Regions from separate parts of the Homo sapiens genome. Here region 2 is linked to region 1. The links are contacts of gene promoters, found by promoter capture Hi-C in human tissues and cell types (Jung and others, 2019). All regions are on one chromosome and are shown on one strand. The core of a region is centred on a gene start or on the middle of the fragment in contact, and the rest is flanking DNA. Distances in the headings are between cores, read along the strand shown. Region 1 holds the start of GULP1 (GULP PTB domain containing engulfment adaptor 1). Region 2 overlaps GULP1 (GULP PTB domain containing engulfment adaptor 1).

Region 1 (4,739 bases), core at 639-3,138:
GAAAACACTCCTGGACAGCTCAAGGAGACCTTTAATTATGCAGTGGGGCAGTACCTTAGCCTGTCTGCTGTTTCCAGCAAAGCCTGTAGTCACCAGCGACTGCACTCTCCCAATTTGTGGGTTTTCCAGCCAAGGCTACTTGTTCATATGGGGGGAAAAGGGAAAGACTGGCAGAGAAAGGGAGCAATTTGCAAATTTGAAGAATTTCCAATTCCTCTGAAAGTTTTCCACTTCCTCACATTCACTCTGTCTAATAATCTCCCTTACTTTAGCACCTAATCACCCATTTTGTAATACAGACACAAAATCATCAGTATTGTCTCCTGCTAGTCCTAGAAATCAGTCATGACTTGAACATTCTCCGTAACTTTTTATTCTCAAATGTTGGTGTAACGTATTTTAAAAGCAGGCACAAAATAAATTTATTAAATCCTTCCTAATTGACTGCATTACACTTTGTCAAACTTGCAGATTGAAATAGTGCATGTAAAATGTCTGATTGCAAATGAGTAAGGCGAGCTCAGTTGGGAAACACTACTAGGACCTAGGGAGGGGTACCTTGACTGCCAGCCCTCACTTACTTGGAGTTTGCCCAGCGTACCAAGTGGACCCGCCAAGCCCAACACCAGCTAAGTCTTCCTTACTCTACCTTGGCACGCTAGTTCCAGCTGCAGCGTCCAGCTTCCTGTTCAAGTCCCATTCAACATCGTAAACACATTCCAAGAAAACCAGCCTGCCCAGAGTTCCCTCCCGCACACAGGGAAGTCAGCGCGGCAGCCGCAGGAGCCTCAGAATAGAGAGAACTGCCTGCTCCGGATTCTGATCCGTGTGGCGAGTGAGGCCACGAGAAGGTGGACCCGGCCAAGCGAATTTAGCAGTCGGAGCGAGAACCCAAGGGCTCATCACCCCCGCCGCGCCTTGCGCCCTCCAGAAGAAGCTACTTGACCCGCGCAGCAGAAGGGTAACCATGTGGACGCCGCCCCTTCCTTTGGGCCCTCCCAGCTCTGAGCTTTAAAGTATCCGCGGCCCGGCCTCGGAGCTTCGCGCCTCCCCACCCCCATGCCCACATTCTCTCCCAGCGCCAACAAAAGGGAGGCTGCCCTGGAAGTTCGCTCCTGGGTCGCCTCGCTGTGACCCGACGATGACTTGCCTGCTCAGCCCAGTCTGATCCACGCACCCTCAGCCGGACGGATCCACGGTTTCCCCACCGCCTCCCTCCAGTTCCTGCTCACCGGCCCCCCGCCGCCGGACCAAAGTTACCACAAAAGGCTAAGGAGGTTTCTGGAGCCCGGAGACCGCTGCGTCCCCGACCTCGCTGGACTCCCCCAGTCATTTCTCAAGCGCTGCCATAGCAGGCGTCAACAGGTCTTAGCCTCCTTTAGTGCTGGACGACTCCCTGAGCATTTAGCTGTCCTAATTTTTTACAACCTGCTGGCCAGCGGCTACGCGCAGCCCCGCGCCCTCCTTCCCGGGCACTGGTGGCCGGAGCTGTCCACCCCCACCGCCCCTCGGGATATCAGCTTCTAAGCGATTCCACGCTACCTGGAGGGAGCCTGGGTTCGCAGCCAGGGAAGAGCCTAGATAAATCTCCGTACCTCACTGAGAGAGGCAGTCGGGTCAGGCTTCGGGCAGGGGCGTGGAGAGCTGCCGGTTCCTCCGAGCCTGGCGATCTCCACTCCGGCACGGCCGGGGCGCCGTCTCCGAGGCCGAGAGGGAAAGTTTCTCTACGCCAACACGGCGCTGGACTCGGGACCCTCCAGCTTCGGTCCCCTCCCTCTTCGCGCTCTCTCCCCCCTCCCTCCTCTTCCTAATCCGCCGAATCCAAAACTGGCGCTGGCGGCAGCTGGGACGCGGGGCTGGGGACTCCGGGTCGCTCCCGGCCGGGAACGCCGGGCTCCCCCTCTCGGTGAGAAGGAAACTCTAGCCGACTCCGGCTTGCGCACTTCTGGCGGTCTCCTTGGACATTTCCACACGGGACGCCTGTGTTCAAGCTCGCTGACTTTCCTTCTTTAATCTCTGATGGTCGTTATCTGTGGGCCCACTGGACTATCTCGCGCGTGCACGCGGAACCGGAGGTGGGTGGAGGGTGGAATGAGAGAGAAACCCATCCGCAGAAGGAGGGGCCCTACCTTACTCAGTCTTCAGCCCGGACAGAAGCAAAACCACAGGCCCCCTCTCCCACCCCACTCGCGCCGCGTTTCCTTTCCAGCCTCTTCCCTGAGACACTAGATCAGGACCATTTGCCTTTTCTTATCTCTGTGTGTTTCCTAACACAATTTTAAAACACCTCTGAGGCTTCATAGAGGGGTAAAGTGTCAAAAGAAATACACGAATAAGAGTAAAACGTGCCGTCTTCACAGCCTTTATCAAGAAAGCAGCCACAGTTGCTGCTGCTCTGGCCGCACCTCAGCGGACTGGTTTGTCCTCATTGGTTTGTCCTCATTTGTTTTTTAACTCGGCCTTAATCTCTGGACTTTGTTATGCCTTAAAACAGACACACACATACACACACTTGAAAATTGCCTTAACCCCCAGATCATACTCATTTGTTCCATTCAGATGTTTACCTCGGAATTAAGGACTTCTGTATAGGATTTGAGAGAAAACACAACAGCCCATTCTTACTGACCTTTGGTAAAGTTCTGCGTGGGAAAGGGAGCAAGAAGGAGTATCCTTATATAAGAAGTTCTTCAAGGATGAGAGGACCTTTACTAAAATTTTTTCTGCTGCTCAGAATTTAGTTTACTAAATTTTAGTTTGAGTGTGAAAATAGATGAGAAAAGGAAAAAGGCATTTTGCAAAGCTAGCAGTTATAATGTATTACAGTGGATCCAGGGCTTAGAGTCAGACAGGCCAGATTCCATTCCAAACTCCATCTTTACGCTTTCTGTGCCTACCAATTATAACTGTCAACAGGAATTCTATAATCTAGCTCACGGAGTCACAGTCACATTTACAGGAGTTAAAATAGAGTTGTGATAGGCGCAGAGAAAATACTCAATAAATATTTGGTTCTTATATCCCACCATGTTTTACTGTAATTAGGAGAGAGGGTGGTGCTAGAAATTTTCCCCCAAAGACCCTGTAACTGAATCAGTTTTCTTCTCCTTAATGCTTTTTCCATTTAAAAAGGCATCATTTCACAATTTTTGAAATGGAAACTATGTTTACAGATTAACTAGTTCCAGCTGAACTCCCTTATTTTAAATACAAGGTAACTGAAGTCTAGGGCTCTTAAGTGACTTTCCCCAAATCTCATGGTTTGGAGGTACTAAAGCTAATATCAGAAATCAGTCCTCATAATAACTTGGCTGGGGTCCTCTTTTAACTGTTTTTCTCTTTATCACAATAGTCAAGCACACATAAAAATAATTATATTAAAAATATTAATCTCAGGACAAATGCTAGTTTTTTTCTGTAAATAACTCTTAAGCAATTAATTTATGAACAATCATTAAAAATTAAATAATGTCATTTAGATGATCACTTGGTATCAATGTGATTATAAAAATAAAACAAATGGTAGTCCAGTATTTAGGAATAAGGAGGTTGATGAGATGAACGAATCCATGCTTACATTATATATTTACACATAGATATTTTGGGTTTTTTAGCCATAATATTAAAAGATTATAATAACTCTCGATTCCCAAGAATACATCAACATACCACTACAGTTGGCTGACCCTAGTTTGTGAACAACTAGATCAGTGTTCAGGACACACAATTCAACTTGAACAAGTTCAAGGCCAAAGAACAAAATCAGGCTACAGAGATCAAACTTTCCATCCTGTGAAATAATGGAAAATCCCATAGCATGTACTTATTTCTCATTCATTTGCCTCTAGTACCTGTAAGAAGGTCTTTTTAAAAAATTCTTCCTTACCATATACAATGTTGAAAATCATCTGAACATTTACATAACTAACTCCCATGTTCTCAGGGATGAGACCCTATATACTCCTTCTAAGTAAGAGTTATTTACTACTCCGGCCTCATCCTCAGTTTCCTAAAGGCATATCATAGCCTCTTTAGAGATCTGTCTTTCCTATCCATAAGACTTGGAAGATCCTAAAGAGGGAAAAAAAAATATGGCTACAAAGCACATCCATCATGAATGGATAAATGAAGATAGATGAGTCCTCATAACTGTCTTTTTCCAATCGTTACATACAGTGCTAAAGATTACTCACTTTTATATTTTCTCCCACTGTTTAAAGTCTTTAAACTTGCTATTGCTTTGTAATTTTTATAACCTGACTTTTGATATGATCTTCTTTGTGAAATGGCTTAGAGGTATAAAAATCTCAAGAGTGTCAGAACCAAGTTTTTAAAAACAATAGAACCAAATGGAACAAGATTTTAAAACAAATTTATAGCATGCCCCAGGAAGTGAAGAAGGGAGATGCCAAAGAAAAGGGTTGCAGAAGCCTAGCAGGGCACTACGATGACAAATACGCCTAATTTTACCTACTGCAAATACCTCAGATTTCCATTTGAAAGTTCTTCACATTCATCATAGGTTCATATAGACCCTGATAGAAACTCAGCAGCTTTCCAGTAATTTTTATTTTTATTTATTTATTTATTTTTTTTTTTTGAGGCGGAGTCTTGCTTTGTCGCCCAGGCTGGAGTGCAGTGGTGCGATCTTGGCTCACTGCAAGCTCCGCCTCCGTGTTCACACCGTTCTCCTTCCTCAGCCGCCCGAGTAGCTGGGACTACAGGCGGCCGCCACCATG
Region 2 (5,410 bases), core at 214-2,713, 150 kb before region 1:
AACATATATAGCAGGAGAACAAAGAATTGGGAATAATGCAATTAACCAGTAACAATGTAATAGGAAGTAAGAAATGACAGAAAAAAACAAAATTATTATAGATTTTTACTGTAATTATTAGACTATTAATAGAATAATTATATTAATAATTGTTATGTTAATATACTGATTATATAACTATTAATAATTTGGTAGTCATATATTATGTATTTGACATAATTATTAAAATAATTATATAATGTATCATACATAATATATGCTATACATGTGATATATCTATATCTATATATGTATATATCACACTCTTGATGTGACTTCATGAGGGCAAGCTTTGAAATTGGGCATGCGACTGCATTGGCCAATAAGATGTTGGAAGATGAAATGCAAGTGCAAGTTGGGGGCTGAAATGCATTTGCACAGCTGCTTTTTAATTCTGTTTGTCCTGGATAAGATTTTATATTAACCTTAGTCTTGGTTTCTCAAACCACAATAGAAGTATATATTAGAACTCCCATCACTGCGTTTGTATTTTTTATGTATTTATTTTTTAATGTTTTTAAACTTTTAATTTAGGTTCAGGGTGCACGTGTGGGTTTGTTATACTGGTAAACTCATGTCACAGAGCTCTGTTTTACAGATTATTTCATCACCGAGGCACTAAGCCAGGTACCTAACAGGTATTTTTTCTGATCCTCTCCCTCTTCCCACTCTCTACCCTCAAGTAACCCTGGTGTCTGTTGTTCCCCTCTTCGTGTCATGAGTTCTCATCATTCTGCTTCTACTTATAAGTGAGAATATGCGGTATTTGGTTTTCTGTTCCTAAGTTAGCTTGCTAAGGGTAACAGCCTCCAGCTCCATCCATATTCCCCCAAAAGACATGATCTTCCTTTTTATGGCTGTATAGTATTCCATGCTGTATATGTACCACATTTTCCTTATACAATCTGTCACTGATGGGCATTTAGGGTGAGTCCATGTCTTTGCTATTGTGAATAGCACTGCAATGAACATTCACATGTACGTGTCTTTATGGTAGAATGATTTCTATTACTTTGGATGTATACTCAGTAATGGGGTTGCTGGGTTGAATGTCTTTTCTTTGAACTCAGAACTACTAAACATTATTTTAAAGAATACATTTTTTAAAAATCTCATTTTTAAAAAAGTATTTTACACTGATGTAACTTACAAGTCCAAGTACTTTGATTGCCAAACAAATACTGAAGCCAAAGTGGGAAAAGAAATGCTTTTTCACCTCTAAATAGAACAAACAGATGATCGCAATGTATAATCAATTCTAACTTCAGCTTGATATGTACAACTGCCAATTAGATCGTTTGGGCTCTGAATTTTAAAGAGCCTGAAAGAGCATTTGCAAACACAATGAAAAAATTTAGATTTTAATACTCTTCATTCCTTGGACACAAAATGTAACCTGGAAAGCATAAGTGTTAACATTTCTATGAAAGATTCAGGGACATTTCTGCAAGATATTCATCCTATCAGTAAACAGATATTAGCATATAATATGAAAAACATAATTTGATAGTTTTCACATACTAAAAACAAGGACATATTAGAAAAGTTGTCCTACCAGAACTGATATGGTAAAGCTAATAAAAGAAGATAGAACTATAGTGGATAATGCTGTGGTCCAGGTAAGTGATAACATTATGTTAGTTTATTGCAGAACAGCTGCATTTTATTGTTTTTATGTATGTGCCAAGTGCAAAAGATCTATGGATAGAAATAGAGATATACAGCACCTATTAAAATAGTTCACTATCTAAAAAGTGGTTTCCAAAATGTTTTCTTCATGAACACTGTATGTGAAAAATGTTTGAGCATGTGCCCCAAAATATGTACAAATTAATATATTCTTACAGAACACATATTATACTCAATTTAAAACTATATGTATAAACTACCTGTTAAATTAGTGCACATATTATGAAATATAGCTGAAAATATAAGTCAAAAGTTAAAAAATAAAAAATAACTTTTAATACAAATTTTAATGTCTCTTTTTTCCTTGAATTTCCTGTAGGGATCCATGTTTGCCAGTTTAGAAATCAAGGGTCAAAGAATATAGATAATAAAATGTACTAATTGCTATAATGGAGACATGAACATGTTTCTATAATGAGAACTTGGGAGGATCAGCTAAATCAGTGAGGAAAGTAATTTTAAATCAAAATGATGAGAGACTGAGGACCTATACTTTGATATCGGAATATCATACCTATGATGCTGTAGTGTCTTTTGTTACTATTGTATTACTTCCTATTAAATTGTGTTAATATACAAAACTTTAATTAAAGGATTTTAGGGAAAGGTAATCATGATGGCTAGTTTGTGAATTCCTCCATAATAAAAGATAATACAACCAGAATAGCAAAACAAACAAACAAACAAAAACAGGAACAAAATCTACAACAAAAATAGGTGGCAAGCTGTGATGGTTGGATTTTAAAATGGACCCCAAGATCCTTGCCCACCTGGTGTACACACCCTGTACAATCTCTCCCCTTGAGGGTGGGAAGGACCTATGCATATAATGGAATATCAAAGCCAGGATTACCTTAAGTTACATGGTAAAGATGGAGAGGTTTTGTAGATATAATTAAGGTCTCAAAACAGTTGATTTTGAGTTAATTAAAAGAGAAATTAACATGCGTAGACCTGGCTTAATCAAGTGAGATTCATTAAAAGAGGGACTGGGCCTTTTTAAAGAAAAGAGATTCTTCTGGCCTTGTAGAAGGAAAGAGCCATGTTAAGAACTGCCTATGGAGAGATCCCAGTCTTTGCCTAACATTAGAGACTACAAAAAGTACAGCCTTTGTCTCTCCTTTAACAGCTTTGAAGAAGCATCCTGCCATAAATTGTGCAGCTGCATGCAAGGAAATGAATTCCGACAACCTGAGGGATCTCTGAAGCAGATTCTTCTCTAGTAGAGTCCACAGATGAGAATACAGCCCAGAAAACTCCTTTATTTCAGCCTGGTGATACCCTACGCCAAGGACACAGGTATGGTAAGTCTATGGGACTTCTGACACACAAAAAATGTGAAGTAATAAATGGCTGTAATTTTAAGCAGCCAAGTGTATCATGTGGCATAGAATTTGTTATAAGACATAGGAAATTAATGCACAAGCTATCTCAAAGATTCTTATAATGGAATTGAGTGAGAGTAAGCCATTAATAGTCAGAAGACACTCATGGTAGCGGCATCAGTGTTGGAGAAAATAAAGGATACCAAAAGCCCGTTTAACATACCAAAATAGGCAACAGGTTGTCAATGAGATCAGCAGTAATTGAAAGGGCATTTTCTAAGCCAACTCACTGGCAAGGGCAAAGGTTTGTGTTTGTGTTCAGATCAAAAAGAGTTGGAACAATCTGAGTCATATGAATTCCCAAAAGCTACCTTTCAGGACTAAGTCTTATATTAAAGGTAAATTTTGGAAATAAAAACCAACTGAGACAAACTGGAATAAGAGTGATTAAAGAAAAAGTCCAGAAAAACACTGGGGAGAAGACAAGGCCAGGATAAATCTGAAAGTATGAAGCTATACTTCTATCTATTAAAACCACCAGAATTGAGAGTTACAAAATTATAAATATAGAAAAGATATTGTAAGCCACTACCTTTGTTTAAAATCTTAGAAAGTCTAATCTCATGACAAAAATTAAAAATGAACAAAACATTGTGCTCACATCTTATGTAAAGTTGTGATAAGATTATAAAAGAAAAGGAGGAGAAAATAACATCCCTACAAGCAATGAAAGCATACAAAAATTGTCAACAAATCAGATTAAAACTCTAGCCTAATTTTTCAAAATGAGCTAAAAGCAATTAAGAAAATAGAAGATATGAAAAAACAATATGAATAAAAATTAGAAAAACTCAGAAATTGGGTGATAGAACTCAGGAAATTTAAAAATAAGGAAAGTAAGTAATGTCTAAAAGGAAAAATGAACCAGAAAGAATGCAACAAAATGGGTAGCACTATAAAAAAAACAAAAATATAAACATAAGAAAATGTTCAAATAAAAAAAGAAGAAAAATGATTCAAAAGGATGTCACAAATATGGAAGGCAGAAAAAAAAATCCAACATATAAGACTCCTCAAAGAAGTAAACCAAAACAAGAGGCAGAATGGATACTAAAATTAAAAATTAAAAAAATACTTTAAATTCAAAAACATGTACATATCAAGAGTATGTTGTAAACTTGGGCAAAGTCACCATAATAACCAAGAAGGAGACATATTCTACTCAAATTCTAGCAAAATTTTAAAATTAAAAAAAAAAGAAAAAGAAACTTTGGGAATGTAGGGAAAGAACTCCAAGGCATTTTTTATAAAGGAGAAAGAAAAATAGACTGTAATCAAAGTTTTGACATCATTGACAGCAAATGATTTATGGTAGAAGACAACTGAAGGAATAAAAATAAAAGGTGATTTTGGAGCACACAAGTAACTCTGAAATATGAAGGTGCAGATCAACTGTTTTCTGCATGCGACACTAAGGAAATATTATTCAGTCAGCTCTTCTTATACTATCACCTTCAGGAATCCAAACTACCTGAAAAAAACAATGACATAAGGCTAGTATCTTCACTAGAAATTTCCAGTTAAAAAAAAGTGGGGGGAATATTATGCCCTAACTCTCAGACCCCATTGTTTACCTATAATGAAAAAAAAAAGGTATAAGGTAGAGAGGACAAGGATTGAGGCCACTCTTCTTTAAATTGTTTTGTAAATTGAACTGTGGAAAAATGTAAATTTTTGCTAAATTATAAAGCAAAATTAAATCAAGGAGAACATGTTCTCAGGACTTCCTGAGGCTGTGTTACAAGCCATGGTCATGCATATTGGGCTCAGAAAAAACCTCTTTGAATATTTGACAGAGTTTGGTTTCTTTCATCAGCATTAATTGGCACCCATAGGCAGCCTCAGAGAAAACTCAGGACCTGCTAAAGGAATTACCTGAACTCAGAACTAAGATACCAAGATGTGCCCATTGAAAGCCCCTCGACTGAGAGATTCTTCTCTGATAGAACTGTTAGTCGTCCTGAGCCCTGGATCTCCCACTTGGTTGACAGTCCTTTGGTTTAGTCTGAGCTTGTTCTTTTCCTGGGAAGTTTTCAGGATCCTAATTTTGATTCAGATGTTCATTCTAAAGGATCTTCTCCATTGCCTTTTTCTCTCATAATCAATTTCAATTAGCTCATCTTTGCATTTGCTCGAGAAACCGGACTGTCCGTTGCATAAACAAATGACAGACTGAGCTTCTCAGTTCCACTACACTGAAATCTAGACTACAGTTCAGTTCCTCCCTTAAAGAAAAATATATATATAAACAAATCATTTACAAATGAAGAAAGACAAAGAGAATGACCCCCTTTGGA

The links. The method cuts DNA at HindIII sites, captures the fragments that hold promoters and counts their contacts. A contact is called where the count stands out against the background at its distance.
Region 2: a fragment that was not itself captured here is called in contact with the fragment with the promoter of GULP1 in region 1 in 1 of the 25 tissues and cell types used here (IMR-90 fibroblasts).

What each region holds. Positions count from the first base shown.
Region 1 is chr2:188,289,023-188,293,761 of GRCh38, reverse strand. GULP1 (GULP PTB domain containing engulfment adaptor 1) reads right to left here and starts at 1,888. Exons shown (of 12, transcript NM_016315.4): 1 at 1,596-1,888. RefSeq lists an enhancer at 1-36. The HindIII fragment of the contact is 13,352 bases long and covers 1-4,739 here.
Region 2 is chr2:188,433,229-188,438,638 of GRCh38, reverse strand. All of the region lies in intron 2 of GULP1 (GULP PTB domain containing engulfment adaptor 1), which reads right to left. Among named protein-coding and RNA genes, the nearest start is that of MIR561, 140 kb to the right of the region's middle. The HindIII fragment of the contact is 4,224 bases long and covers 1-3,575 here.